Regions from separate parts of the Homo sapiens genome. Here regions 2, 3, 4, 5 and 6 are each linked to region 1. The links are contacts of gene promoters, found by promoter capture Hi-C in blood cells and fetal thymus (Javierre and others, 2016). All regions are on one chromosome and are shown on one strand. Each heading gives the region's core, a stretch centred on a gene start or on the middle of the fragment in contact. The rest is flanking DNA. Distances are from core to core; before and after follow the strand shown. Region 1 holds the start of PDLIM2 (PDZ and LIM domain 2). Region 2 overlaps RHOBTB2 (Rho related BTB domain containing 2). Region 3 has its middle 13 kb from the start of PEBP4. Region 4 overlaps PEBP4 (phosphatidylethanolamine binding protein 4). Region 5 overlaps POLR3D (RNA polymerase III subunit D). Region 6 overlaps PEBP4 (phosphatidylethanolamine binding protein 4).

The links. The method cuts DNA at HindIII sites, captures the fragments that hold promoters and counts their contacts. A CHiCAGO score of 5 or more calls a contact.
Region 2: a fragment that was not itself captured here is called in contact with the fragment with the promoter of PDLIM2 in region 1 in 2 of 17 cell types (naive B cells and total B cells); the score reaches 7.2 in naive B cells.
Region 3: a fragment that was not itself captured here is called in contact with the fragment with the promoter of PDLIM2 in region 1 in 1 of 17 cell types (M1 macrophages); the score reaches 6.3 in M1 macrophages.
Region 4: a fragment that was not itself captured here is called in contact with the fragment with the promoter of PDLIM2 in region 1 in 15 of 17 cell types (endothelial precursors, activated CD4 T cells, megakaryocytes and 12 more); the score reaches 21.8 in endothelial precursors.
Region 5: a fragment that was not itself captured here is called in contact with the fragment with the promoter of PDLIM2 in region 1 in 2 of 17 cell types (endothelial precursors and erythroblasts); the score reaches 6.4 in endothelial precursors.
Region 6: a fragment that was not itself captured here is called in contact with the fragment with the promoter of PDLIM2 in region 1 in 4 of 17 cell types (M1 macrophages, M0 macrophages, erythroblasts and 1 more); the score reaches 6.7 in M1 macrophages.

The regions. Positions count from the first base shown.
Region 1 is chr8:22,579,225-22,583,370 of GRCh38, reverse strand. It overlaps PDLIM2 (PDZ and LIM domain 2), which reads right to left and starts at 2,896. Exons shown (of 9, transcript NM_001368120.1): 1 at 2,674-2,896; 2 at 1,841-1,992. The coding sequence starts at 2,766. RefSeq lists silencers at 1,001-1,295, 2,860-2,949, 3,680-3,839, 3,850-3,939, 4,040-4,109 and an enhancer at 970-1,662. The HindIII fragment of the contact is 20,077 bases long and covers 1-4,146 here.
Region 2 is chr8:23,007,760-23,010,489 of GRCh38, reverse strand. RHOBTB2 (Rho related BTB domain containing 2) reads right to left here. Exons shown (of 10, transcript NM_015178.3): 6 at 2,379-2,497. Among named protein-coding and RNA genes, the nearest start is that of RHOBTB2-AS1, 9.3 kb to the right of the region's middle. RefSeq lists an enhancer at 1,232-1,817. The HindIII fragment of the contact is 4,621 bases long and covers 1-2,730 here.
Region 3 is chr8:22,938,684-22,942,829 of GRCh38, reverse strand. It overlaps a transcript of PEBP4 not described here. Among named protein-coding and RNA genes, the nearest start is that of PEBP4, 13 kb to the right of the region's middle. The HindIII fragment of the contact is 7,835 bases long and covers 1-4,146 here.
Region 4 is chr8:22,916,195-22,920,340 of GRCh38, reverse strand. PEBP4 (phosphatidylethanolamine binding protein 4) reads left to right here. Exons shown (of 7, transcript NM_144962.3): 3 at 31-157. Among named protein-coding and RNA genes, the nearest start is that of PEBP4, 9.6 kb to the left of the region's middle. RefSeq lists an enhancer at 1-795. The HindIII fragment of the contact is 1,575 bases long and covers 1,319-2,893 here.
Region 5 is chr8:22,254,439-22,258,584 of GRCh38, reverse strand. POLR3D (RNA polymerase III subunit D) reads right to left here. Exons shown (of 9, transcript NM_001722.3): 9 at 3,984-4,146. It overlaps PIWIL2-DT (PIWIL2 divergent transcript), which reads left to right. Exons shown (of 2, transcript NR_134293.1): 2 at 3,679-4,009. Among named protein-coding and RNA genes, the nearest start is that of POLR3D, 11 kb to the right of the region's middle. The HindIII fragment of the contact is 501 bases long and covers 2,646-3,146 here.
Region 6 is chr8:22,893,064-22,897,209 of GRCh38, reverse strand. The region is part of intron 3 of PEBP4 (phosphatidylethanolamine binding protein 4); the gene reads left to right. It overlaps LOC124901907 (a long non-coding RNA gene), which reads left to right. Exons shown (of 2, transcript XR_007060854.1): 2 at 530-2,159. Among named protein-coding and RNA genes, the nearest start is that of PEBP4-AS1, 17 kb to the right of the region's middle. The HindIII fragment of the contact is 1,551 bases long and covers 1,394-2,944 here.

The sequences.
Region 1 (4,146 bases), core at 1,647-4,146:
CTGTGCACCCTGCCCACTGGAGGCCAGGGTGCCTTTGAGCGCGTCACTCCTGATCCCTTTCTCAGGGGTCTCCCCAGTTAAACAAAGGGCGAGACCCGCCTGCCTCCTTCCAGACAAGTAGGCCCAGCTCCCCACCAGCGAGAGGGGCACGCCCTCCCAGCTCCCTGGGTACCCTCTTCCAAAGTGGAACCCAGCTGGAGCCCTGAATGGGAGGTAACTGAAGTCTGGGCTGAGGGACAGCCTGCCTCGTCCCATCTTGCCACACATTCCTGGCCGTGAGGCTGCCTCTAGAGATGTAGGGCAACAGGACCCTCCGCTTCCTGGGAGAGCCATGGGATCAGGGTGAGGAGAGCTCAGTCTCTGGCTCCAGCCTGGAGCCCTGCTTCCTGCCCCAGGGCTTCTGAATACCAGAGAGGTCACCTGGGAGGGTAGGAGGCGGGAGATGGGGGCGGGGGGGGGGGTGGGCATCACGTCAGCAAAAGTAAGGAGACTGGGCCGGGCGCGGTGTAATACCTGTAATCCCAGCACTTTGGGAGGCTGAGGCAAGTGGATCACGAGGTCAGGAGATCGAGACCATCCTGGCCAACGTGGTGAAACCCCATCTCTACTAAAAATACAAAAATTAGCTGGGCGTGGTGGCACGCGCCTGTAGTCCCAGGTACTCAGGAGGCTGAGTCAGGAGACTCTCTTGAACCCGGGAGGCAGAGGTGGCAGTGAGCCGAGATCACGCTACTGCACTCCAGCCTGGCAACAGAGCGAGACTCTGTCTCAAAAAAAAAAAAAAAAAAAAAATTAAGAGACTGGAGTCTGGGCTTGCCTGGTGCAGAACCAGAGGCCTGACTTACAGCCCAGGCCTACCTCCCCCGAGCCCTGGTCCCTCCAGAGAACCCCAGAGGAAGAGACAGTCCGAGGCTCCTGCCCTTCCGCTGCCAGACCCTCAGCCTCCTGTAGCTTTCTGCCCCATTCCCAGATGCCATGAGGTGCTCTCTACCCTCCTTCTTGGGGTCCCGCTCCTGCAAACACCCAGGGACCTGAATGACATGAAGGGAGCCGGCTTCTGCCACACCACAGGGCAGGGCAGTTGGAGAAGGAGGGGCTTGGTAGGGCTGAAGAGAGCAGGACAATGTGGGGGTGGCCAGGATGCAAGAGGTGTCTGACTCAGGTTCTAGGCCCGTGCAGAGGGCTCTCCTGGCTCGGGGATCTCCTGGCATTCCCGATCTGTGACTCACTGCAATGCCCCACCCCAGGGAGCCACCTGTTCCCCCTATAGCTTGGCCTCCAGGCCCCACCCTGGCCCCACCTTGGCTTATAGGCTCAAAACCCTAGGAGTAACCCAGGATCGGGCATCTGCCTTCAGTGATGGGGAGGAACAGACAGCCTCTATGAGGAATGAGCCCCCCAAGTCCTCACTTCCAGCTGGGAACTAAACAAAGGCCATGCCCTGTTGGAAGCAGGAGTCCTGGGGATGCAGCCTCGGGCATACCTTTCCCAGAAGGTTCCCCTCTTCAACCCACTTCATGCCCACGCCCTGTGCCCTGCACACTCTTGGGAACCAGTCAAACCCGGGCTTCAAGGTGGCTGGTGCCAGCTCGCCCTGCCCAGCCTGTGACTGCACGCCCAGCCTGGCGCCCACCTTTACCCAACCAGGCATGGGAACACCCCTCAGCCCACCCTGCTGCAGGAAGCAGAGCCCAGGACCTTCTCACCAAGGTGTGGAGAGGGCCCAAGAAGGCCGCTTTAGGGCTGAGCTCTAGCCCATGGGCAGGAGCAAGGGCTGCTCAATACGTGGGGTGGTGGAGGAGGGGGAATGCCACAGGCTCTGCAGAGCGGGAGGCCCTACCGGTCCAGCTGCAGCCGCAGGGGCGAGGGGCTCTGGCGGATCTTGCTCTGGGCCTCGGCATGCAGCATGCCCTCCGCGCTTTCCCCGTTGATGGCCACGATTATGTCTCCAGGCCGGAGGTCAGCGTCCTTGGCTTTGCCCCGCTCGGCCACCTGTAGGGATGAGGAGCTGGCATGCTCAGACCGTGGCCCAGCTGGAGAAGGGACTTCCCACTCTGCTACCCAAGAAACACAGAGGCTGGCTTGACCCAGGCCGGCCTGCACCCTCCTGCATGTCCCTCTGCCTGCTCATGACACCCAGCTGATCAGCCATCCCCTCCAGGAGCGCAGGTGGCAGCCCCCACCCCACACTGGCATTCTAATGGGCCTCCCAAAGAATGTGCAGTGGCAGAATTTCAGGAACTGTGCTTGGAAATACTTTTGGATAGAGAGCCTTGCCCGTGCAAATCGCACCTTGCAGGTGGCTGCCTGCACAGCCCTCCTGTGAATGTTCCCAGCCTGGGCCCAGGTCAAGAGGAGACTGCCAAGAACTCCGGGGCTCTTGTTCTAGTAATCACCCCAAATGGCTGCCTGCAAGTGTGGGGATAGCAACTGGGGAGGCAAGAGCCGGCCCTGTCCTGGTCCCAGCTCCCTTTCACTCCCAAGGTCTGTTCCTGAAGTGGCCACCACATCCCCGTGGCAAAGGGCCACGGCTCCCTTACAGCCAGCACGCCAGGCAGCAGCAGATCCCTAGCTCCAGAACAGAAAAAGCAAGCCATCTGTGCAGAGTGGGGTGAACAGGGCCGACCTCGCTTCTGGCAGGACCTTCTCATCTCTTTGAGCCACCATCCTTACCTTAGTCACCATGATGGGCGTGTGGAAATCCCTGCCCCCTGTGATACGGAAGCCCCAGGGCGCTGGCCCGGCCACATCCACCGTCAACGCCATACCTGAGGAAGAGAGGACCAGGAGGTGAAGTCCATGCCCCTAGCCGGCTCTGGGGGCACTGTAAGGCAGCAGGAGAGGAGCCAAAGGGAGAAGGAGAGGGCACCACAGCTCCCGGAGCAGCTACTCAGGGGCTTTGGGGTGGGTAGAGGAAGTGGCTAACTCCCTCCCTCAGCCCGGTTTCACTTCCCCCCACCCTGGGAAGCCATGCTTCTGGGTTCTCCCTTCCTTAGTCTTCAGCCCAGGGAGCGACTCCCAGGAGGGGGCTGCCCAGGCTGCCAGGCAGGGGGCTTGCTGGAGCATGGGGGGCAGGGGCTGGCAAGTGGAGGGGATGCCAGCACCCCCTCAGTCTCCCCTCCTCCACCATCAGGGCTCAGTCCCACTAGCGCTTGCTTCCTGTCCCCAAAACCCACAGCACACGGTACTTCCTCTCCACTCTGGGGGAGGGCTGGTGAGTGGCCTAGGGAGAGCAGGGCTCAGGAAGCAGGAGTGACGGGTCAAGGAACAGGCTGGCACCAGTACAGACTGTGTAAGTCACTGGCCAGGTGAAGGACTGGTGGGGTGAGGCCGAGTCTTCACATGGGCCTCCTAGCTGCCCACCTCGTTCTTGGCAAAGTGGATCACACGGGCAAGACCGGGCTCCCCACCTCCCCCAGGGGCCGGCTGCCAGGGCAAGGAGGCCAGGGTTCATCTGTCAAGCTGGACACACCCACCCCCAGATTCCTGATGCTGCCCGACAGACAGCCGGGGTGACAGGCCTCCCATCCACAGCCCCTCCGCTGGGCAAGGAAGTGCCCTTGCAGACAGACCCCTGTGGGATTTCCTGAGCCTCTAGCTCTGGAGCCAGGAGCCAATCCAGGCAGGAAGCCGCGGTGCCAGGCTGGGCACCACCCTGCCCAGCACCCATCCTGGGGCTGCCCTGGGGACGCAAGTGCTGCGAGAATCTATCAAGAGCACCAGCGGTCTGTCCGCTCCATCCCCGGCTGCCTTCCCCTTGGGCCCAGGCCTAGCCTCTGTTCCCAGCACCGCCCCCACCCCAGTCCCCGAGGCCGGCTCGCGGCCGCCCCGAGATTCCCAGACCTTTGAGCCGGTCAGTGGACTCCGCGCTGCGGGCGCCGCGGGGAGGTGCCCAGCCCGATGGCCCGGCTCTACCAGTTCTGGAGCCTCCTTCGCTCCGAGGGCAAAGTACCCTGCGGGCTGGGGGCTGGAGGAGGAGCGCTCCGGCCGGGGAGAGCGCAGCTCGCGGGGGCGCCCCCGCTGATGCGAGGCTCCAGGGAGCTGGGCCGCGGACGAGGCCAGGGTTCCGCGCCGACAGGGGCGCGGAGAGGAGCCCGGCGCCGGGGAGGGCGGGCCGCGCGGAGAGGCGCAGGTGGGCGCGCTCAC
Region 2 (2,730 bases), core at 231-2,730, 430 kb before region 1:
AAGATGAACTGAACCCTGAGAAATTGAAGAGCTCTGGCCCTCACACCCAGGCTCCCCCAGACGGGCAGCCTTCCCTGTGCTGCATGTGTATCTGCTGAGAAGACCCTGAGAACACCTGACCCCTAGAGCGACAACCTGTGCTGAGCCCCAGTTTGCTGACAGCACCAGAGTACAGGCCTCTACTATCATTTATGTGTTTATTTTTAGAAACAGCGTCTTGTTATGCCATCCAGGATGGTCTTGAACTCCTGGTCTTAAGCATTCCTCCTGCCTCAGCCTCCTCAGTAGCTGGGACTATAGGCACAAGCCATGGCGTCCAGCTTCTAAACTCTTCCAAAGGGACCCAGATACTACTCACTGGCACCCTTTGGAAGCCGCTCTTGCTCGCGGGATGCTTGAAGGAGGCCTTCTGGTCACCTCAATCTACACCTCAGTCCCTCCCATCCCTGCACAGAACAGAAGTGGGATACAGAATAAGTAAGGCCCACAGCAGCTGATTTCTTTCTGTCTGCTCAGAGCTGCTGCTTTGGGCCTCCAGGATCTCTTGAGAGCAGCGCTGCAACACAAACTGCCTTCTCATCAGGCTCTCCAGGCTGTGCTGGGAACTGGCTAGAAGTTTAAAGCTGGCGTCTACAGTACCGAGAAGTGCCCGGGGCTGGCAGGCCCCTGGGGCTTGTGAGAGCTCCTAGTCTCACATTTTGTATATCCAAATCCTACTCCCACTTCAGAGACCAACTCCCAACGCTTCCACTTAGCCTTCCTTAAGTACTTCCTTCCCAGAAATCTTAGAAAATGCACATTCCACATCACGGGATGCGATGCAGCCCAGCCTCGTGCTTGGTTCTGTTTTTCATTCAAGCATTTGGTGAGCATTTCCCAAGAGACTGGCGCTGAGAGGGTTTTTGGCAGAAGGAAAAAGACCCAGTCCCTGCGCTCAGAAGCAGTTACAGAACAGTAGGGGAAACGGTGTGGACGTTCAGAACTCCACGCGCCTGCACAAAGTCGAACCTCGTTAACTACAAGGTTCGACGACACTCAGTGATGGGCAATTGAGGTCCAGGAGTTCAGAGCACACCAAGGGCTACTGCCCAGGCTACTCTGCTTGGAATGGAAAAGAGACCAAACCTAAGAGAATATTTCTAAGGACACATTGATAGGCTTCTTCCAACCCTAAGTTTCCAATCTAGGTGAGTGAGAAAGTGGTGGCATCGTGAGAGCTAGAGGGTCACTGATTAGAGAGGCAGGTGGTTCTATTAAGTATGCTTTTCCTTCCCTTCCTCCCTCCCTCCCTCCCTTCCTTCTTTTCTCTCTCTCTCTCTTTTTTTCTTTTTTTCTGTAGAGATGGTGTCTGTGTTTCCCAGGCAGGTCTCAAACTCCTGGGCTCAGGCAATCCTCCCACCTCAGCCCCTCAAAGTGCTGGGATTACAGGTGTAAGCCACCCCCTACACCTATTTTCTGTATTTTGTTGCTTTGACAACTAAAGCCTTGCTGGCCCTATAGGGACTGCCTCCCTCAGGGCTGGCCAAGTCCTAGGGATAGTGAAGGAGTTGCCTGCAAGTGTGCCTTTCATATGCAAACCAACCAATCCAGAGCCCACAGCCCACTACCTCCCCTATGGGCCCTCACACTCCAGGCCACTGTTCCCCTGCCCTAATCCCCCTAGAGCCAGGTGACAGACAACTAGAGACAGCATCCAGGCCCCAGAGCCGGCTAACATTATTCAAACAGCTAATCCTAAACCTGCTCAACCTGCCTCGCCCATTCCCTCCCACAGAAACCCTCTGCCTCCTGATTGACCCCAGAGCTTCCCCATGTGACCCCAGCCATGGTGCTGTGGCATGCCCCCTTTTCTTGGGATCTGTAACAAGTTGTCTTATCAATGACAGCCATCTTGCAATCTGTGGGCCTCTCTACACCTCAATAATAATAAAACCTATCTTTTAAAACAGTGATGCATTCAGTTGTTTCAAGTGTGTCAGGGAGGCAGTAAGGTACAAAGTAAAGAGCCAAGGAATGGAAGTCCTGAGTTCAAGTCCTAACTCTACTTCCAACTTCATACAAGTCACTTAACTTCTCAGGGGCTCCCTTTCCTAGATATACGGCAGGAGTGGCACATGTGTACGTTGCGTGTGAATTTAATGAGATAATGAACAGAAAGTGCTTTCTAAACTCTCAAGTTGAGGTGTCAGTGTAATTCCCTTTCCTGGTGTATTGTATAATCCTTAGCTCCAAGAACCACCTCATAAACCTCTCTTGGGCCCATCACCCTGTGGTTAGCACACAGTCAGTGAAGAAAGTACCCTGAGTGGCAGTGCCTCAGATGTAAAGGGTGCAAATGTCTCACTCCCTCCTTCCCCCCTTTGTGTCCTCAGCCTTACCTCCCGGGTGGAGCTCTCCACAAATGGCCCCCCAAACATGGCAGCCATCCAGTCACAGCTGGAAATCAACAGGGGCTTGTGGGCGCTGATGGTGCCATCATCCAGGATGAAGGTCACATCTGTCCAGAAGAAGCATCACAGGAGGACTGGTGAAAGAAGCTGGGAGAACAAGCCCCAAGGGGAGCCACGGAGCCTCCTCCTGAACCCAGAAGATTCGGGGCACGGAACAAACCCGCTCCCAGCTGGGGAAAACCAGGCTTCAAGAGCATGGCAGCCGCAGCTCCAGGACACCAGGAGCTGAGACAGACAGGCAATGCTAATAGCACCAATGCAGAACCCCCTTGCTTTCCAA
Region 3 (4,146 bases), core at 724-3,223, 360 kb before region 1:
CCATGTTGGCCAGGCTGGTTTCAAACTCCTGACCTCAAGTGATCCGCCCACCATGGACTCCCAAAGTGTTAGGATTACAGGCATGAGCCACTACACCCGGCCCACAGTTGGTGATTTTGTTTTCTGTGTTTTTTTGTTTTGTTTTGTTTTCTTTAGACAGAGTCTCACTCTAGGCTGAAGTGCAGTGGCACAAACATGGCTCACTGTAGCCTCTACCTCCCAGGCTCAAGCATTCCTCCCTCCTCAGCCTCAAGGTGTGCACTACCACACATGGCTAATTTTTTTCTTTCTTTCTTTCTTTCTTTTTGTAGAGATGGTGGGGGTGGTGGGGGGTGGGGTGGTGGGGGTTCTCACTATGTTGCCCAGGCTGGTCTTGAACTCCTTGATTCAAGCAATCCTCCTGCCTCAGCCTCCCATTATGTTGGGATTACAGGTTTGAGCCACCACACCTGGCTGTTTGTTTGTTTGGATGCTCATCTCCCTTCTAAGCTGTGAGTTTATCAAGAGCGGGATCCTCACCTTGTTCATCTTTGCACCTTCAGCACCTGCCGCATGCCTGCTATTTATCTAGATTGAATACAAGGACTCCCCAGCCTGGCTGCATATGCGAGTCACCTGGGAAGCATTTGAAACCCTCCATGTCTAGGCTTCACCCTCCGAAATTCTGGTCTAATTCACCTGGGGTGGGGCCAGGCATTGGTGTTTTTCACGAATTCCTCAGGTGCTCTACTGTGCAAAACTACTGGGTAAGTGTTTGACTTCTCATTGATTTGTTGATTTTCCTGGGAGGAATTCTCTAGAAAGAAAGTAAGGAGATGGTTCCAGGTGTGGTCATTTAAAACACAGCAGGAAACCCAGGACCTGAAAACCACGTACTTGCCCTGGGCTTAGTTACCTGATTGGCAGAACCTTACCCAAGTGTGAGCCAGCCTGGAAGACCTGGGTCTGAGCCAGGTGGTGGTGGTCTCCATTATTCTGCAGGCTCCAGGCCACACTTGTTGGGGAAGGGGATGATTCTAAATCCCCGTGATGGCCAGGTGCGGTGGGTGGCTCACACCTATAATCACAGCACTTTGGGAGGCCAGGGCCAGTGGATCACCTGAGGTCAGGGGTTTGAGACCAGACTGGCCAATGTGGTGAAACCCCGCCTCTACTAAAACTACAAAAAAAATTAGCTGGGCATGGTGGTGGGTGCCTGTAATACCAGCTTCTCAGGAGGCTGAGGCATGAGAATCGCTTGAACCCGGGAGGCACAGCTTGCAGTGAGCCCAGATCGAGCCATTGCACTCCAGCCTGGACAACAGGAGTGAAACTCCGCCTTAATCAGTCAATCAATGCCCGCAGACTGGGAGCTCTGAAGATAGTTGTCAATCCCGATCTCTCCTGTCTGTGGCTGAGGGCCTGTTGCTCTCCGTGGTCAAACGTTGGACATCTTTCCACGGACGCTGGTCTCAGTGGTTCCTCCCTCCAACCTTCTGCACCTGTCTCTGCGGCCTTCTTTTCCTGCACTCTAGTGTCCCTTCTGCCTGACTCTCTGTGCATCTTGAAAGGAGAAACGGTAAGAGAATTGTCTCCGCAGTTTCCACTCTTTTCCTTAGAATCCTTGGAAGGAGGAATGCTGGCAAACCCACCCATTCTTTTTTTTCCTATTCTCTCCTGCCCTACATATCGGCTCCTCCCTGGAACTCCCCTGGAACTTTCTCCAACTGTCTCCCCAACCACCAACAGCTCCCTCCTGTCCTGTGGCTCTAGGAACCTTACTGAACCTCTCAAACTCTCAACATCCGCTGGCTCTGATTACCTTAAGGGCCCAAACTGAGGGGCACCCTGGAGGGAACTTTCTCCCCTCGTTCTCCAGGCCAGAAACCTGTCAAGGTGTGTACCTTCCCACAGCCAGCACCCAACAGCTCCCACACTGTTCTGGACAAGTGACAAGGGCTCTTCTTCCCTGTTTGTGTGCGGTAGGAATTTGCTACGAGAGAGGAGACAGAGGAGAGAAAAAACACCTTGGCCTAGGGAGCTATTAGAAATTCGTGGTAAAGGCTGGCCGTGGTGGCTCACGCCTATAATCCCAGCACTTTGGGAGGCCAAGGCAGGCAGATCACGAGGTCAGGAGATCAAGACCATCCTGGCTAACATGGTGAAACCCCGTCTCTACTGAAAATACAAAAAAATTAACCAGGCGTGGTGGTGGTCACCTGTAGTCCCAGCTGCTCGGGAGGCTGATGCAGGAGAATGGCATGAACCCGGGAGGTGGAGCTTGCTGTGAGCCATGATTGTGCTGCTGCACTCCAGCCTGGGTGACAGAGCAAGACTCCGTCTCGAAAAAAAAAAAAAAAGAGAAATTCATGGTAAAGGTGGTGTTTCCAATTTTTTCACTCTAGCGTGATTTGAGCACATCATTTGAGGCATTATTTGTGACTTTCTTCATGGCGTTTCTAGGTGCCTATCTATGAGCCTCAAACATTTCTCTAATTCTCCTCAGAAAGGCCACTTTGGTGAATTTCTCACTGCCTGAATTTTGGGCTGCGATGAGCCTCACTGATTTCAGGCAGGCCTTACTTCTGACAGATGTAGTGAGTTTCTTTCCTTTGTGAGGTCCTCATTCTCCCTTCCATGATATAGGAAGAAGGATCCCCATTTCCTCCCATCCTGAGAAATATAGGGGGAACCAGAGATTGACTCTGTCCCTGCAAAGAGGGGCAAGGTAAATACATAGCTTCACTAGGCTTTAAGTTCAATTCTCACCTCCACCAGATGGACAAAACATTCAACCTTTCAAGGGTGACATGACGGCAGGTGATTGCCTGAGGCACCACCATTTCATAGCCCCTCTGGAGCCTGCCATTCCATGGGTGAAGTGATTCATTAATAGATGCAATGTGCATCTGTTAATGAAATGGGCTTATTAAGTCAACTGTTGATTGCTGAGACCAACAAGCTGGGGCTACCTAAAAGAAGAATTTGTGTCCCTGGAGTGGGAAGGTCCTGGCCCCCAGCCTCTGGCCCGAGGTCTAGCAGGACCTTTGGATAAATGGAGGGGTGAGGGAAGGGGTCAGAGCTGGGTTTATCTCACAGACACTCTCCTGACTCCTGGGTAATAAAATTGTTGGGAAAATCCAGCCCTGGAGCTCTCTTTGCCAGCCCCATCATTGCCACCATGAATTCCTCTGCCTTCTGCTTGGTAGAAGGAAAGCGAACATCTCTTAAAACAACAGCAAGTGCAGATACCCTGTAACAGAGCATTCCTCATTCCTTCCTCCCATTTCTTAGACATTGCTAGCATTCATGAACTTAACAATAAGCCATAATCACTTGAGACATTCTTGTTCTTAACTATTTTAAACAAACAGTTATCTATAAGGCCAATTAAGAATAATAAAGGTAAAATATTTTCCTTTACTTCCATTTAGTCCATCTTCATTGTTCTTCCTTTATGTAGAGCCAAGATTTCATTTTCCTTTTCATTGAAGGGCTTCTTTTAACATTTCATGCAAGGCAGGTGTAAGGGCAAAATCTTCTCTCAGTTTTTCTTTGTCTTCATATCCTCTCCACCTTTGAAGAAAAATTCCCCTGGATACAGATTCTAGGTTGATGGAAGTTTTAACACTTTTTAAAATATTTCACTCCATTCTCTTGTTGCTTGCCTGGTTTCTGATGGGAAGTTTGATGTAATTCTTATTGTTCATTTAGAAGTAAGCCCCACTCCCTGAGAAAAAAACAAAAGAAATTATATTTTTATACTTTTACATTTCAAGACAATTTTCAAATTGGTCATCTGAAATGAAAGGTACATAAAAAGCAACAAAGAGTTGATAACAAAAGATGGCCCAAGTGCATGTTGGGTGACTTTGGAATTCTTTCTCTGTCTCTAAGTAGGACAACCAAAGGTCAGAATAGTTCCTTTACAGCATACGGTTTTTATATGTGCGTGCTTATTTATGTAACGATTTATTAAGCATCTGCTATGTTCATAGTGCTGTGGGGAATGCAGAGACAAATGGGGCCCTCACAGAATGAAGTACGTGCACAGAAAACTAGAGCAGAAGGCAGAAATCAATGAATGGGAGGTGGGAGGAGCAGCTCTGCTCCTGGAGCTTCAGTGAGACCCACATCTATAATGGGGGGGAAGTGTGACCTTTAGGA
Region 4 (4,146 bases), core at 857-3,356, 340 kb before region 1:
CACAGGGCAACCTCCCCTCTCTCTTCATAGGGGCCTTGAAGTTTTCTACCCAGAGTTGGGGAACATTGGCTGCAAGGTTGTTCCTGATTGTAACAACTACAGACAGAAGATCACCTCCTGGATGGAGCCGATAGTCAAGTTCCCGGGGGCCGTGGACGTGAGTGAGCAGGGCTGTGTTAAAGCGGGGGGACAGTTGGGGGTCTTGATGTTCCTCCAGGCTTGCTCATCTGGGTGACTTGAAGCTGCGTGCAGAGCCATCTGGGTTGGGTCTGGTGGCTGCAGATGGCTGTTGCCATAAAGTTGTGCCTTCCTTAGAGTGGACTTGAGGAGAAGGCTGGGGGCTGGTGGGAGGGCTGCAGACTGGAAACTTTGGTGATGGTTGAGGCCATTCTGCCCAGGCCTTTTCCTGCTCCCCTGCTCTGGGAGCTCCTTGGCTGCCCCTGAGATCTGGGACCCCAAGCCTGGTGGAGACCAGCTGGTGTGTGCTTTGGAGTTGGCAGATAAGTGGAAGAAGGCGTGGTATGGGAGGAGTCCTCTCTCAAGGCGCGGGGTGCCTGGGCCTTCAGATGGCTTCTGGGCTGGAGAGAAGCTGGTATTTACCAAGACAGAGCTTCCCAAGTTGCCTAAACAGGCAGAGGTCAGTGCATCTTGACGCTTTGTTGTCACAACATGAGACACGCTCTTCTTTTGCCCAAAGTTGTGTAAAAGAAGAACAAAGCATTTTAGGAACTGGAAATAACTATTTTACTGGGCAGTGATTAGTGCTATTACATTTAGGGGTCTGGAAAGCCTGGGGAAGAGTCATAGAAGTGGGAAATGGGTCTGCTGCTGCCCTAAGCAGCCAGAGTGTGTTTTGGGGAAGCTGATCTGGCCTTCTGGTCTCCGCTTCTTTATTTCTTGACTCCTGGGCCAGACTGAGCCCGCAGAGTGTCAATGGTGGAGACTGGCCTCTTTTCTGCTGTGTTTTAGAAGGAGGTGCTGCTGTCAATCTAGGCAGGACTTGGGTCACAAATGCCTGGAGATGGAAGGGTCGTGGCCGGGATGTGACCAAGCACACACACCAAGGCTGACCTTCTGGTCCTTTCTGTGCAGGGTGGCAGGGAAGGGCCACAAGGGGTTCTTCCTTCCCCTCAGTGCTGCCTTGGTTAGGCCTCATGCAGTCAGCTAAGCCCAGTAGGACAACAAGCTCCAGAGGGCGGCAGCACACAAGTTACTCCAATGCGGGGAATAGACTCTTCTCTTTGAAGTGTTTTTCACTATCAGAGAGCAAATAGATTGTGATATGGCTCGCAAGTTATGAGGCTGTTGTCATGAAGCTTTGCTAGGTTGTCTTGTTTGCAAACACGACAAACACCCTTTCCTTTGGGAAGACGAGCAATAAAGTGCACACGTGCACATGTGTGCACATGTGCACACACACACTTGCATGCACACCCATGTGCACACAGCGTCAGCCCTCTTCCCTGGAAACCCTTGGACTGGGCACACCTGTGGACAGCCAAGAGGAGCAGAGAAAGGAAGCCTGCTGATTCTAACTCCTGGGATGGGAGGTGCAGAGGCCGGGCAGGAACCCAATCTTTTAGAGGAGTATATGCTACTCTGCGGGACAGGACTCTCGGCTTCACCATCCATTCACTTGTCTTGGGGTTTGTCCCTTATGTAGTGAGGGTCAGTCGGATGCTTTCACAGGCCAGGGACAGTCCCAAGGGAATTCTCCCCAAAGGGCTCCCTTCCGCGTGCTGATGATGCTGCAGACATCCACTAGATGGCAGTGTAGACTTTTCTGAGCACCTGGTGTCCTCCAGAGCAGGGATTTGAAGCCTGTTGGGAAAGTCTTTGGTTTGATTTGGTTTCGTTGCCCTGGCTTATCAGCACATTACACAAAGACGACATCACCCACGCCACATCCTGAAGTCTTGTACTGTTAAACCCATCCTGCCTCAGCCCGGGGGTGGGGTGGGGAGAAAACGGATGTGGAACATAGAGATTTATGAGGAACACAGAGCTGTGGTCAAGAAAGCCTGGGAGAGTGAAGATTTTACAAAGGAAGATTTGATCGAAGCTGTGGGAAGAAGAAAAACATAGTATTCTACTACTATGGAACTATAGTTTATGGAAATGTAACAGACCTATGAGAAGGCAGATTCAGAGAGATTTGCCAAAGTGGTCAGTGAGTGCCACCTTATTCCATTCCTGGGCACTACTCGGACCTTTCATTTAAGTCTCCAAGTTAAGTATTTCTTTCATCAAGACTATTAATGGCATGTGACAAAAAGTCAACTCAAATCGGCTTAAGCCAGAAAAGAGGGGGAAACATTGGTTCACAAAACTGAAAACTCCAGGGATAACTTCAGGCGAGGCTGGATCCAGGTGCTCAGTGTCACCAGGAATCTGTCTCTTGATTGTTTTTTTCTGTGCTGTTTTCATTTGTAAATAGAGTCTTCCCTTGTGACAAAGATGGCCCCAACAGCCTTAGGTTTGTGTTTGACCAATTTGTCAACCCCAGTGGAAATAGGGTTTTCCATCCATTAAAAGTCACAGGATTGGTCTCGCTTTGGTCTTGTGCCTATCCCTGAACCTAGCAGTGACCCTCTACAGCTCCCCTTAATCTACAAGGACTGAGAGTAGAGGAGGATGGTTGCCCTGAATGCAAGTCAAGGTGTGATTGATCAGATAAGGGTGAAAGGATGTTAGGTAGGAAATGCAAGGCAGGTCCTATGGAAGTGAGTAATCTGGCCAAGTACAGAGCTGAAAGGTGCCAGAGCCAGAGTCAAAGCCAGGTCTGCCCAACTCCAGAGCCCATGGGCCTGGCCAGTGGGCCACTGGCAAGGGCTCTAAGGGAGACACCAGGGGGCGCTGGCACAGGCAGGGGTGGGCTGGCCGAAGGGAAGCTTTCCCTGGTTAGAATGGAAGGGGGTGGGCAGGAAGGATAGTTCTTCCTAGGGAAGGTGGTAGTTGGAGCTTCCCTTAAGGGAGAGGGCATGACTGGTGAGGCTGGAGGAGCAAGTGCTACCTGGGTCCCTCAAGAAAAGGGTGCGGGGAGCCTGAGTGTTTAGGACAGAGAAGAGCATGAAGGTATTTCTTCTGGGCCTGATGGAGAAGGGCACGAGTTGGTGACTGCTATGTGGGGATGGTGCATTGCTTCCAAGGTGACTGAAGCAATGCCACCAAAGCAGTGACTGCCATTGGACATGCCTGGGAACACCCCCCCCTCCCCCGCCCCCAGCAAACTCCAAAGCCCTGGAAAGAGGGGTGCAGCAGTGCCTCTGTGCCCACCATAGAGCTTCCCACCTCCATATTCTGGCATTGGCCACTTCCCCATCCTTGGCGTCTTTGGACCCTGCTCCCGTCACAATGCTTCCTCCTCTAGGAAGCCTTCCCTGACTGCCTCCCTCTGGGCTCCACCTACATCCCTGGCTGATCTTTTCTTTCTCTGTGCTTTTAAAATGTTCCTACCCTCTAAACTGGGTTTTGACTTCCCTGTGTCTTGTGCTGTAGTTGCTCATTCCTGTCTCTCAAAGCTTCAAGCACTTTGTAAGTTAGGAGAGAAAGACTATGTGTTGTCTTTCTTTGAGTCACCCGTGGGCCCCACCAGCACCTCAGATGCCATGCTGGCTGACTGGGTGACTAGGTGAGAGAGTGAACAGGTGAATGCATGAATGCATGAATGCATGAATGAATGAATGAATGAATGACATGTGGGAGAGCATCTCCTGGAGTGTGAGCTATGAGCTGTGTCAGCCAAACTGTCGGCCCTTTCAGCATCTGTTGAAGGAAAGCTGCTAAACCTAGTGAACCCAGGGCAGCAGGACTCTCTCCTCCCCCTAGGGGTGGGGTGTGAGCTGGGGGGTGGGTGGGGAAGCAGGCAGAGAAAGAGAGGAAGTCAGGCAGGTTCATGAGAAGGCAAAGTAACACAGGAAAACGTGGCTGGCTCCCGTGCCAGCTATGGCTGAGCGAGAGAGGTGTGGAAGTAAGAGGAAGCGTTTCTCCCCTGGCGCTCTGACAAACATGAAGAGGCAAACATTTAAAAATGCATCCCGTTCTCAAGCCAAGGAAAACTGAAAGGCCCCTGAGAAGCTTCTTGACTGGGGGCTTATTCTCCACCTTAAATTTCGCCAGCTGGAATCCTTTTGAAGTGCAGAAATT
Region 5 (4,146 bases), core at 1,647-4,146, 320 kb after region 1:
GCAATGGTGTGATCTCGGCTCACCGCAACCTCCACCTCCCAGGTTCATGTGATTCTCCTGCCTCAGTCTCCTGAGTAGCTGGGATTACAGGCATGCACCACCACACCCGGCTAACTTTATATTTTTAGTAGAGACAGGGTTTCTCCATGTTAGTTAGGCTTGTCTCGAACTCCTGACCTCAGGTGATCCGCCCACCTTGGCCTCCCAAAGTGCTGGGATTACAGGCAGGAACCACGCTGCCTGGCCCAACATTTGCACACATGCACACACACATGTACGTGTGTGTGTGTGTGTGTGTGTGTGTGTATATATATATATATATTTTTTTTGAGACACAGTTTCACGCTGTCCCCCAGGCTGGAGTGTAGTGGCGTGATCTCAGCTCACTGCAACCTCCGCCTCCTGGCTTCAAGCAATTCTCTGGTTCAGGCAATTCTTGGGCCTCAGTTACCTGAGTAGCTGGGATTACAGGCGCGTGCCACCATGGGCCCAGCTAATTTTTTATTTTTTGTAGTGATAGGGTTTCACCATTTTGGCCAGGCTGGTCTCAAACTCCTGGCCTCAAGTGATCCACCCACCTTGGCCTCCCAAGTGCTGGGATTACAGGCAGGAACCATGGCGCCTGGCCCAACATTTGTATAGTTTTAAAAACAGAACGTTAACTACACATTTAACTACAAATGCACTGCTGATGCACATGTGAATAGATGCAAACATTCTGGAGGGAAAAATCTATCAAAATCCTTAAAAATCTCATAGGATTGGACTTAACAAACTCCTGGGCTCAACTGATCCTCGCACGTCAGCCTTCAGAGTAGCTGGCGCTATATAACCTCATATCACCACGCCCAGTTAATTAAAAAAAATTTTTTTTTTCTAGAGACCAGGTCTTGCTACATTGCCCAGTCTGGTCAGGAAAACCATTTTAAATAGAGACTCCTAAGGAAATAATTGAGGACACTGGCAATTTAATGGATTTTATTTATTTATTTATTTTTTGAGACAAGTTCTCACTGTCACCCAGGCTAGAGTGCAGTGGTGCGATCTCGTCTCAGCTCACTGCAACCTCCCACTTCTGGGCTCATGCAATCCTCCCACTTCAGCCCCCCAAGTAGCTGGGAGTACAGGAGCAAGCCACCATGCCTGGCTAAGTTTTATATTTTTGGTAGAGATGGGGTTTCACCATGTTGCCCAGGCTGGTCTCAAACTCCTGAGCTCAAGTGATCCACCAGCCTTGGCCTCCCAAACTGCTAGGATTATAGACATGAGCCACCACCCCAGGCTGCATCATTTTTTAAACGATGAAAAACTAGAAAAAATCTAAATATCCCAGAAATGGGAGATCAGTTGGGTGAATTTTCATAGTACGAAGACGGATTCTAATATAACCATTAAACTTTAGTTGTACAATTTAAGAGACGTTCCTAAAGGAATTCTTGTGATCATCTTGCCCTGGGGAAAGGTCTGAGAGCCACACTGAACATGGCTAGTTTAAGTACTGGTCGTGCTTTCATTGGGAATATACTGTTTTGAGGGAATGAATCGGAGAGAACTGTGTTGGCAGCACGGCACAGTCTCAGGAAGCTTCACTCAAACTGTGAACCCTTATGCTAACTCCCGTGAATATGGCTGGTGGCGCCCACCACCCACGCCACTCCCATTTTATAAGGTGGAACCTGAACTGCAGGGCCAGAAAGCAAAATACCCACATTTCCCTAAATCTCTTGTGCTAGCATTCTGGGCATGCATGAGGTTTTACCAGTTGAGGTTTGGAAGGTGGAGGTAAACTTGAGGCCACCTTCTTCACTTTGGCCGTCTTCCGCTGCCAGAGCTGTGGATGAGCTTGACTCTCCTCCCTCTCACACCTGACATGGAATCTATCAGCAGATCACGTGTGTGCTACCCTTGAAATCAGTATCTAGAATCCAATCACTTCCCAGTGCCCCTGCTGTTAGCGGCCTGGCCAAGCCACTGCCATCCACTGTCCAGGGACTCCATCAGCCCTGCTTCCCGCCTCATCTCCACACCAGCTGGCTCACCAGGTCACTTTAAGAATAAAGCCGGGCTGGGTGTGGTGGCTCACGCCTGTAATTCGAACACTTTGGGAGGCCGAGGCGGGTGGATCACCTGAGGTTAGGCATTTGAGACCAGCCTGGCCAACCTGGTGAAACCCTGTCTCTACTAAAAATACAAAAATTAGCTGGGCTTGGTAGCGGGTGCCTGTAATCCCAGCTACTCAGGAGGCTGAGGCACGAGAATCACTTGAACCTGGGAGGTGGGGGTTGCAGTGAGCCAAGATCACGCCACTGCACTCCAGCCTGGGCAACATAGCGAGACTCCGTCTAAAAAAAAAAAAAAAAAAAAAAAAAAGAATAAAGCCAAGGTCCCTACCATGGCCTAAAAGCCCTCCAGGGCCAGGTCCCACCCCTCTCACTCCCTCAGCTCCAGCCAGTCTCTGTCTTACTCTTCACTCAGCCCAGAGCACTCTCCCCACCTGCATCTGATCCCGCTGGTTCACTTCCTCAAACGATACCCTCTCAAGGAGACCTACCCTACTTGCTGCAACATGCCCGCCACCACCCAGAATCCCCTGCTCCCTGCAAGTTCCCAAACTCTTGTCACCTTTTAACGTCCTTCCTTAAGCTTATCCTGTCTCCCTCACTAGAGTGCAGGCTCCTCCAGCAGGACACAGCCCCTAACCACTGCTTTCCTAACTCCTGCAGGGTGCCTAGCACACAGCAGGCACTTTCTTCAGGTGTGCCAGGGTCCAGCTACAGCTGTATGGTTCCCCAGAGGCAGCTGGGGCTGTGGGATTCCCTCACCCCTGGCTGGCAGCTGTGGCAGTGTGTTGTGTTCCGGAACTCAGTCGAGCTTGAGTCTCCACCCTCCTGATTGTGGCAGAGGGTGTAGCTCCCTCACCATCTGTTCTAGGGGGTGCTGATTCCTGGATGCTTAACCTATGGCTCACTCCTCCAGCCTTCCAACGAGTCTATAAACTTCTCTTCTTGTATTAACTCTTTCTGAATACCTAGAATGGTTTCTACTTGTCCAGTGAAACCTCATGCACGCCCTGGAAAACACACAAGATAAAGTCTCCAGGCCAACAGTGATCAAGACTGCATTTTTCTTTTTCTTTCATGTAAGCTTTCTATTTTTTTTTTTTTTTTTCTGAGATGGAGTTTCACTCTTGTTGCCCAGGCTGGAGTGCAATGGCGTGATCTTGGCTCACCGCAACCTCCGCCTCCCAGGTTCAAGCAATTCTCCTGCCTCAGCCTCCCAAGTAGCTGGGATTACAGGCATGCACCACCACGCCCAGCTAATTTTGTATTTTTACTAGAGACGGGGTTTCTCCATGTTGAGGCTGGTCTCGAACTCCTGACCTCAGGTGATCCGCCCACCTTGGCCTCCCAAAGTGCTGGGATTACAGGTGTGAGCCACTGCGCCTGGCCCATGTAAGCTTTCTTAAGATGTAAAGACTGCATTTTTTTTCTGACTATATCTTAAATGTAGATGAGCCAAGTAACAAAGTCCAACTTCTGACTCAGTTTTTGGGAAGACAGATCAGTGGTTACCCCAATGGAAGGGAACAGAAGAAATGCTTTAGAAGAGCTGAGGCAGAAAGTGGCCATGCAGAGGGCTCCTAGAACTGGTGTCCCATCACCATCTCTGTTTTTTCAGATGACACCCCTAAGACCTGAGCCCCTTCTGGGCCCCACACTCCACCTGTAGAACTCTGATGGGGCCTTGTGCGGCCGAACCACAATCCAAGAGAGGTGTTCACATCATGTGTCGCTAGCCACAGCCATCTCAAGGGGAAATGCCCCAAATGTAGAAGTATCTGACACCAGGACTGGGGGTTGGAGCACTGGATGAACAGCGTGTGTGCCACTCTTTCACTGTGCACCGTCCTAAGAAAGAAGCCTGTTTCCCTTTGAAGAGCCTAGTGCTGACTGCCCAATTCAATCGGACCACGCAGGGCAGTCTGAGGATTAAAAGATGCTACCTTTAATTCCTTCGGCTAATTCAGAAGTATGTGAAACACAACATACTCATTAACATGGAAGAACTGGATGTGTGTGCATGTGGGTGTGTATTATTTATTTTTCAGAGACAAGGTTTCACCATGTTGCCCAGGCTGGTCTTGAA
Region 6 (4,146 bases), core at 920-3,419, 310 kb before region 1:
AAGATGGAAGAGGAGGAGAAGAAAAGGGGCTGTATTTTCTCAATTAGCAGAAAAAACAGATTTTACTCAATTTTGAATGTTTCTCCTATGCCTCAAAAAAATCTTTCCCACCTCTCAATGTCTACGCTAAGCCGTAGTATATTTGGATTATATATATATACATACACACACACACACACACATACACACAGATATATGTGTATATATATAACACGCAAATATATATAGATAGGTATAGATATATTATCCATTTTAGATTTAGCTATATATAATATCTAAATATGTTATATATAAAAATATCCAAATATACCATATATATTATATATATTAGAGATGAAGAGAGAGAGAAACTATCAAGTACATCAGTATACATAGAGAACTAGTGAGTTAAAGGGAAGAGACACTAACTGTGGATTTTAAGGCGTCATATAACAGGTCATGACATAGTTGAGGCACCTGACACCTTCAAAATTCTGCCTTATCATAAGTTGTCACCTTGCAACCTCTGTGTAATGCTGTTTCTACCAAGGGCTGAACGAGGCATGGGAGAGTCTGTGTCACTGCTGAGCCTTAGCTTGAACAGTAATAAAGAGGCCAAGGACTGCTGGGGTAAATGAGAAATGAAATAGGTAACGTGGTTCTCCAGATACCCAGAGCCAGAAAATGCTGAATCAGAAACACAAAATGTCAGGAAAGTGAGAGTAGGAGTGCGCCTGAGTGAGCCTCAAGAAACCCCTAGCAGGTGAGGTGGAAGGAACCCCATCACTGGGATGAGGAGGGGAGATCAGGGAAGACTCCCCTTAGCCTGAGGATGGCTCTGAGCAAACACGTTGGAGCCTGGATAATACCCCACTGAACACTGCAACTATCGGTTAAAGGAGCCATTGGAGTAAGAATTGATAGGTCAGCGGGAGCAAAACTCAACCATTCCTGATTAATTAGTATTACCGTGGCCTATGTATTTCTCTAGTTCAGATCTTCATCAGATCACACTCCAGCTATGACAGTGATTGTCCAAGCTCCATTCCCTGTCTCTCCTCCCAGACTAGGACATCTTCTTCTTCTGGGTTCCCACATCATTCTAGGTTCCAGTGGCACTTTTCTTACTTGATGCAAGGATGTGGGATTTGGGAACATGGTTTCATCTCTCCAACCACAATACCAGCAACTTTCAGGCAACTGTCTGATGCCACACAGCAAATCTGCCCCAGGGCAGAGGGGGCAGTAGGTAGGCAGTAACTGGGAGCACAGGCAGAGAGGCTGGCATGAAGAAACCTGCCCATGGGAAGCAGGGCCAATGCCACCTAGGCTGGGTTCAAGGATGTGGCCAAAAAAGCAGAACTTCCGACAAACTTGGAAAACTAGTCAGGTTACTGAAACAGGAACTTAAGCTTCTCAGCAAATTAGACGTAACATATAAACTGGAAAAATCAGTGAACTTGAAGATAGAGCAACAGAAATGATCTAAAGAAATATAAAGAGAGAAAAGAAGGCTGGGGGACAGAACAGAGCACCCAAGCATTGTGAGACAACATAAAATGGTCTAACATATGTATAGTTGGGATCTCATTAAGAAAAGAGAGCAGAGTAGAACTATTTGAAGAGATAATGACCAAGAACTTGTTAAAGAAAGGCAACATACCACAAGTCCAAGATACTCAGAGAACCTTAATCAGAATTTTTAAAAAAATCCACCTAGATGTGTCATGATCAAACTGCTAAAAACCAAAGATAAATTCTGAAGACAACCAAGGAAAACAGAATGCCGGTGTCCCCCTCACCAAAGCATGTCTAAATGCTTGTGAAGAAAGTATGTTCTCCTGGGACAGAGTGAAGGAGGGTATGTGGGGAACACATGTGTAAGCCCACCCCAACATTATTATGCCTCTCCAGGTATTAAGATTCCTTGCTTTATATCAAGGAACTTCTGTCACCTTAGCTTTATTTAGTATAGGATGCCATTCAGTTCAGGTTTCATTTCAGATAACCCACTGAGTGAACAGAACCATACCCAGATGATCCAGCCAGTACTTTGGATCCAGAATCCATATTGATCAATATGGCCCAATTGAAAATGATCTTCTTTCCTCCGTGATCAGCACCTTACTATACATTTCTCAGATTTCTGCCAATAAATATTAAAAAACAAATGGCACCTACTTTGGTGTGAAAGTCTACTGTTTCAGAATCAGACTTTGTGCTTGTCTCCCTTGGCCATGCTGAAATCTGATTCTAGAATAGGTCAGGAGCAGCCAGGGGTGGTAAGTGTCGACCTCAGGGAGAATCAGGATTCTCTTGCAAGACAGGACCTGGGGAAAAGGGGCAGCTTCTGCTGGAAAGGGAGGCTCAGCAGGGTCTAAGACTCAGTTATATGAATTCAGCATCCCCATTCACAGGGTTCCATCTTTCCCAGTCAACACCATCTCCCATAAGAGACCTGATGAGGCTGTGAACTTAACTTAGGTTGTAATTCTACAACCTGCTGGGTCAGACTTCACTTCTGATTTCAGTTTTGTTGGCCCTGAAACTACAAACCGTGGGAGATTCTTTCAGGATAGTCTTAACTGTTCCTTGCTCTTCTGATTGAGCCTTGAGCCAAGAATTTATTACTATTTTATTTTATTTTTAGAGACAGGGTCTCACTCTGTTGCCCAAGCTGGAGTGCAGTGGCATGATTACGGTTCACTGCAGCCTTGACCTCCTGGAATCAAGCAATCTTCCCACCTCAGCCTCCTGAGTAGCTGGGACTACAGGCACATGCCACTATGCTTGGAATTTTTTTTATTTATTTTTTATTTTTTGTAGAGACAGGGTCTTACCATGTTGCCTGGGCTGGTCTCGAACTCCTGGGCTGAAGCCATCCATCTGCCTTGGCTTCCCAAAGTGCTGGGATTATAGAGTGAGCCACTATGCATGGCTGTGCCAAGAATTTAAACCTCAAGCTTCTAACCATTTTTCTTTACTTTTCCCACTTCTGGCAGAAGAAGTCATCTTATTCCAACATCTTTATATTCATCATTCTGACATAATAATCTATCGTGCAATTCCGCCAAACTCTTATCTTCAATGGGTACTTTGTTCTAGGTAATCACACTTGATAATCAAGATTATTTTGCTACTATATGCCGCGGGCTGCCAGTGACACATTTGCTAATGGTAACCTGTGCTCTCATCTTCACTGGTTTTAAGCAATTTGATTGTGATGTGTTTGGTGTAGTTTTCTCATGTGTCTTGTGCTTGGCATTTCTTTGGTTGGGCTTCTGGGATCTGTGGGTTTACAGTTTTCATCAAATTAAGACATTTTTCAGCCATTATGTCTTCTAATATTTTTTCTAATATTCCCTAAAAGGGAATTTTAGGGACTCCTATTGCATGTATATTTGGCTACTTGAAGATGTCCCACAGCTCACTGATATGCTATTCTGGTGGGTTTTTTTCAGTCTTTTTTCTCTCTGTGTTTTATTTTGAATAGTTTCTATTGCTGTGTCTTCAAGTTCACTAATATCTTATTCTGTATAGTTAACCTTCTGTTAAATCTCATCCAGTGTACTCTTCATCACAGACAATGAAATTGTTATCTCTTCAAATCTGAATTGGGTCTTTAAAAATATTTTCTATGTCTCTGGGAATATATAAGCCTTCCCCTACCTTCTTGAACACATGGAATATAGTTATAATAACTGTTTTAATATATTTGTGTACTAATTCCATTGTCTGTATCATTTCCCAGTCTATTTCAATTGATTGTTTTTTGTCCTTGTTATGGTTTCTATTTTCCTGCTTCTTTACATGTCTAGTAATTTTTTTAGGTGCCAGACTTGTGGATTTTTACTTCATTAGGTGTGAAATGTCATTATAATCTCATAAATATTCTTGAGCTATGATCTGGCATGTGGTTAGGCTCACTGAAAGCAGTCTGATCCTTCTCAAACTTGCTTTTAAACTTTGGTAAATAGGACAAGAGCAGCGTTTTTCTAGGGCTAATTTTGCCCCACTGCTGAATACTCTCCCTGCTGCCCCAGGAATTCTGTGGCATTTTTACTCTGCCTGGTGGGAATACAAATTTATTCTCAGCCTTGTGTGAGCCCTGTAGACTTTTCTGTCTGTTTCTTTCAGGGAATTATTTCTTTGGACTCAGTTTTCTCA